Regions from separate parts of the Homo sapiens genome. Here region 2 is linked to region 1. Evidence: promoter capture Hi-C in 16 types of primary human blood cells and fetal thymus (Javierre and others, 2016). All regions are on one chromosome and are shown on one strand. Each heading gives the region's core, a stretch centred on a gene start or on the middle of the fragment in contact. The rest is flanking DNA. Distances are from core to core; before and after follow the strand shown. Region 1 holds the start of KCTD18 (potassium channel tetramerization domain containing 18). Region 2 holds the start of TMEM237 (transmembrane protein 237).

What was found. The method cuts DNA at HindIII sites, captures the fragments that hold promoters and counts their contacts. A CHiCAGO score of 5 or more calls a contact.
Region 2: a contact is called between the fragment with the promoter of TMEM237 here and the fragment with the promoter of KCTD18 in region 1, in 3 of 17 cell types (monocytes, non-activated CD4 T cells and total B cells). The highest score is 6.3, in monocytes.

Annotation. Positions count from the first base shown.
Region 1 is chr2:200,508,659-200,511,406 of GRCh38, reverse strand. KCTD18 (potassium channel tetramerization domain containing 18) reads left to right here and starts at 1,339. Exons shown (of 7, transcript NM_152387.4): 1 at 1,339-1,779. RefSeq lists a silencer at 1,107-1,566. The HindIII fragment of the contact is 2,465 bases long and covers 873-2,748 here.
Region 2 is chr2:201,642,253-201,645,000 of GRCh38, reverse strand. TMEM237 (transmembrane protein 237) reads left to right here and starts at 1,498. Exons shown (of 13, transcript NM_001044385.3): 1 at 1,498-1,642. The coding sequence starts at 1,601. It overlaps MPP4 (MAGUK p55 scaffold protein 4), which reads left to right. Exons shown (of 22, transcript NM_033066.3): 22 at 1-127. RefSeq lists silencers at 1,380-1,639, 2,210-2,399. The HindIII fragment of the contact is 8,699 bases long and covers 1-2,748 here.

The DNA of each region.
Region 1 (2,748 bases), core at 90-2,589:
TGTCCACTCATTTCCTCGCACCTAGTTATCACTCTCTGTCACCACTTTGCTTAGTGTCTGTTTCTCCCACTTGAACAAGGGCAGGCAAACTATGGCCCATGGACCACCATTTGTTTTTGTCTGGCCCATGATCTAAGAATGGCTTGTACATATTTAAGTGTTTGAAAAAGCTGCATTTTTAAAAGAATATTTTTTGACACATGAAAATTATGTGAAATTGGAATTTCAGTGTCCATAAAGTTGGAACTAGCAATGCTCATTTGTTCAGGTTTTGCCTATGCCTTCTTTTAGACTACAACTGCTGAGTTGAGTAGTTGTGCATGGCCCACAAAGCCTAAAATATTTACAGAACAAGTTTTCTGCATGTTGTACTGGAAAGTAAGGTTGAACGCCCATTATTTGTCTCTTCCAGTCCTTTACTCTCAGTGCTTGCTCCATAGCTAGTGCTTAATAATTACAGGTTGAACAAACCTTCCCTCTCTCCTAAGACTGTTAATATCTAAGGGGATAGGTTGACTTACCTCTCTTTGGCTTATTCTCTTCTAAGAGCCAGTCAGGGAAATTTGGAACCAAATATTTTTGATTTTGGGGAAGCACCTTGAAAACAGGACTGTTATATTTCTCTTGAAATATCTAGCACAGTACCTTGCACAAGGTAAGATGGTGCTAGAAACTGGAAGAACTGTTTTAGGGTTATCGTTAACAGGAAATTAAGTAGTGCATGCAAAGCACTTAGCACAGTGTCAGGTGTACAAAAGTGTTGAATAAATGTTTGCTCTCGCCTCAATTTTCCTTGCTATAATGGGAAATAAATATCACCCTTTATATCACTGTCACACAGACTAAACAAGAATGCTGTGTGTGAAAAAGCTTTGTAAGCTGCAGACACTATCCAGATAGACTTATCCAAGTGCAATATATTAACACACGTTGGCACTGAGCAGCCCTGTTTGGAGGGATGGGCACTGACCTGGGGGTGAGAACACTTAACATCCTAATTCTTGCCACTTATTAAGTGACCTTGGACAATCGCAACTTCTGCGGCTGTTTCTTCTCTTCACCTGTAAAACCAGCCTCTGAACACACAAGACCGTCCCTTGGGGTTCAGCCCTGGCCTTCTCTACCGTGTGTTTCCCTTACCTCCGGGATGGAAGACCCACCCGACTCCGAGGCGGCCCACTGGGGCGAGACGAATCTGGGGGCGGGGCGTGGCGTGGCGTGGCGTGCCCGGGACGTGGCCTCCCTCCCTCCCTGAGCCGCTGCCTCAGAGCCGGGCCGCACGGGGGCGCCGCTGGGGCCGCTCTGCTCCCGAGTTGCCGAGCAGCTGAGAAGGCGTTCACTTCCGCGTCCGCCCCGCGGCGTCCGGCGGCCGCGCCGAGGGTCTGGCGGGCCGCAGGTCAGTCTGGGAAGCTGCCGACCCGCCCCACCCCCCCGGTGCGGAAGAGCCGGGCGCGGGATGGGCCGCGGGCCCGGAAGGCGGCGGGGCGCCCTGAGGAAGGGCACGGGCCGCGCTGGTAACGCGCGCGCCCCGGGCTGCAGGCTCGGGCTTCGGGCCGATTTGGGGTCTCCAGGCCGCGGAAGACCGTGGCGGGGCTTTCTGGCTCCCCAGCTCCTCCCGGCTCTTCCCGCTTCGGAAGAGGAGTGTGAGCCCCTTGAGCGATGTTTTTCAAAGTGGGGTTCGCGGGCAGATCCCGACCCCTCCTCAGACTTTCTGAGGAACTGTGTGCTGTGGCCGGAGTGTCTTCGTTTTCCCAAGCGTCCCTGATGGTTTTGATGCAGGTGATCATAGGAATGCACTCTGGGGGACATTGTCCCCGAGGGCTGGACACTTTCCACATAGCAGGGAGCCTAACTGGGTGCTTTTGAGGATGGGGCCTGCGGAGTGCCCCCCTGGTGTGGCCTTGGAATGATGATGTTCCTATCCTTAGGAGAGACTGCCTGGGGTTGGGGTAGGAGGAGTAGCTCTTAAATCCTCGGGATCGGGGTGCTGCTGTGTTATCGTAGCCAAGTCTTGAGATGGACAGATGCTTAGAGAGTGAAAGGGCTGGGTCAGGATCCATAGGGGTGAAACAGTGCTGGAGGAGGCGGTGTGGGGTGAAGCAGGAAGAACTTGGGGTTCGTCCTGCCGTTCTGGATTGGGGCTGGCTCCACAACCTACTAGCAGTCAGTCCTTGTGTGGCCCCTGTACACATCACTCTTTTTTTTTACCCCAATGGCCTCATCTGTCAACAGGGACAGTAATTCCCATCCAATAGAGTTTTTGTGTGAATTAGGTAAAGTGTGTCAAGTGTCTCTTACAATGGCTGGCACATAATAAGCATTCAGTAAATGGGAGTTATTAAGAGTGACACAGGCCCTGGCTTCCTTGGCCTACAGACCAAAAAGTAGGGATTAAACAAGTGGGGTAAAAAGTGGACAGACACACAGTATATTTGTAGAATTGTGCAAGGATTCTAACTTGGGGGGCAGAAGGATACGTGGGACGGTCATGCAAGAAATTAGGTTTGCTGAAGGCCTTGAAGAATAGATAGGATTCCAGGGAGCCAGTAATGAGGCAGAGGGAACAAGTTCCATCCCATGCCTCAGAGGTGGCTCTCACACATGGATCTTTGGAGTGCTGCTCCCAGGACTTCTAGGCAGTGCGAGATGTCACATCCATAAGTGGTTTTGGAAGGCTGGACCTTTGGCCCATAATGGTTTCTGTTGCTGACCGTATTCTACACACATGGTCTTCCTCAGATTTTAATG
Region 2 (2,748 bases), core at 249-2,748, 1.1 Mb before region 1:
GCAGCTGTGGTAGAAATATGAATAATGTTAAGTCACTGAGTATGAGAACCTTTCGCAGATTTCACATGATCTTTTTAAGATTTAAATAAAGAGCTTTCCTAAATAAAATAAGCAATAGTTAACTTTAGAAACTGTACTCTATGAAACGTGTTTTATGAAAACATCTTTTACAAAAAGTGCTTACTTGACTAACTCAGCAAGAAAGGTTTAATGTACACATTTCACATCTAAAATCAAAACCTACAAGAAACTGCACTGCCTTCACTATTTACAAATCGGCCTACAAGGAAAAAATTATTCTCATGAGAGGTGTGACAAACACTAATTTTCCTTAACAGCCAATATCTACATGCAGGCCTAAATTAGAAAAAGGCAATGGATTAATCCCAGAGACCTATATATAGAAAATCACAAGAGTGAAACCGTGTCTCAGAGTTAAAGAAACCAGGGACTAACAGAAATTCTTGAGCATGCAGGACGGCAGATAAAAAACAACTTGCTAAATAAAACGCCTAAACTTCTTCCATTGTGAGATTAAAAAACAAAACAAAACAAAACAAAGCAAACTGGCTGAAAGTGGTTAGTACTAACACGGATGGCTACCTGGAGTCTGTACAAAATGAGCTTGCTGGCGTCACAGCTTGAATCTTTCCCCATGTTTCACACTGACTCCCTCCAAAATTTGCACATGCGACCCATGAAGGGACATGAAGAGGTAACTGCGAACGCCAGAGGATTTTCCAGATGGCTTCTTTCCTTCCACCAATCACCTACTAATCCCAGAATCCACCCCCTAAACGTTTTCTAATAAAAATACTGTCTTAAAGCCAACACAGGGAGACAGATTAGAGCTATACTCCTGTCTCCTTGTTAGCTGACTCACAATGAAAACTTTTCTCAAAAAATCAGCGCCATAATATTGGCTTCTGTGCGTATAGGGCAACAAGCCCCGTTTGTTTGGTAACAAGATTAGGATGCCATTACAAAGTGCTGTTTCTCTTTCTTTCCCCAGATTTGAGATTTCCAGGCGCTTTCCCTGTCCCTGTATCTGTTCATCTTCTGCATCATTCTCTTCTCCATATCCACACCATTCTTCCATCTTTCCCATTTCTTTCTTAACTGTAAAACAGAATGCATGATTCAAAATATTTGTAGTTCTCTGTTACTTAAAGTGAAAGTTATCTTTAAAAAAAAACAAACCCAACCAAACCAAACGATGCAAATCAGGTAGTTTGTAGTGATATTTATGTGAGGTTGGATTTGATTTTAAGGTTGAGAAAAAGTTTTTCCAAATTTGATTTACACAGTTGTGGGATGAAGGGTAAGCAATCGGAGAAAATGTGAGAATTGCCTATATTAATACACATCCACACACCCAGGCCTGCACAGACTCGTTGGTCCTGGAGAGTAAACGCATTCCTCCCAAACCCAGCAGCGCCTGGCAGGACAGAGGCGGGCGGGGACCTGGCTCAGGGGGCGGCTGCCTCGCCAGGCGCCACGAAGCCCCGGCGTCCCACAGGTCCCGGAGGCCGCTGCGTCGCGGGGAGCTGGGCTCGGGCCGCCGGCGGTTGCGCCGGGGCAGCCCCGCGGGGAGAGCACCATGAGGACTGACTCGGGGGCTCGGCTGGAGGAGGGCCACCTGGTGAGCGGCGAGGGGCGCGTCGGCCTCGAGAGGTGGCGGGTAAACAGCTACACTTGGCAGTGGGGGTGGGTGTGTGTGGGGGGGCGCCAACGAGCTGGGAATCACTAAGGGAGGGCCTTGCTCGTGGGGTGCGCGCATCCGCCCCTCCAGTGTTCACAGGAATGGGACGGAGACGCAGGCGAGGCCGGGACCGAACTCCCGGAGTGGGAGAGAGAGGCCTGGCATGAAGTTTGCGGGGACCTGAGCCCGCGTTGCCACGACGACGCCTCACTCATCTGAGGCCCGGGGCCCGGCGGGTGCCGGGGCTTCCAGCCAGGCCTCTCCTAGACTCCTCCGAGGAGAGGTCTGTAGCTGCCCAGAAGAGATCTGTTCGCCTGCGGAGTCCTTTAATTAAGGTCTTCCGTCACGCCCCGCTTCCCGCAAACAAATCACCGCCACCACTTAGGAAACCACGGGAAAGCTGTGATTGCAGCGCCACGGTCGCCAGATTTCTGCTCCTGGGCACATTACCCCCAACTCCGAGGCCCCCTTTTTGGCAGGGCTAGTCTGGACTGGCCAATCCAGGTCCCTGCACGCCTCTCACCGCAACATCCCCGCAGGGCGCTGCGCGCGGGGTACTAGCCAGGCGGCGCGGCCCGATGACGCATTGCGCCTGCGCGCGCGACCGAGCCGGGAGGGGTGGGGCGCCAGGTGCTTGGGGGCCGGCGGCCGCCGAGGCCGGCTAAACGCAGAATGGGGAAGAATCCTGTGGTAAGCGAGCCTTAGCTACTTTTAATTGTTAGGATTTTTGTCTTCAGTTGAGCCGTCCTACTTTTGAGGATTAGAGGTTGGGTCTCTGGGTGGGTGGAACGTCATTTTTGCGGGACTTTTGAAATCAGTTACGTGAACAGAGCCCTGGGATCGATCGCGCGCGCTTCGTAGCATCTTTAGAACAATAGCGCGTTCCTGTGACTGTCATTCTTCTCCAATTGTAATTTTGACTACTGGATGGTATTACGGCAGCTTGCCTCGTCCTAATCTTGTAGTACTTGCATTAATCTACTGTTCGAACGAATGGATTGCTAAATGGGACAAACTACAAGAGTGTCTAAAATTTAACCCTTTTG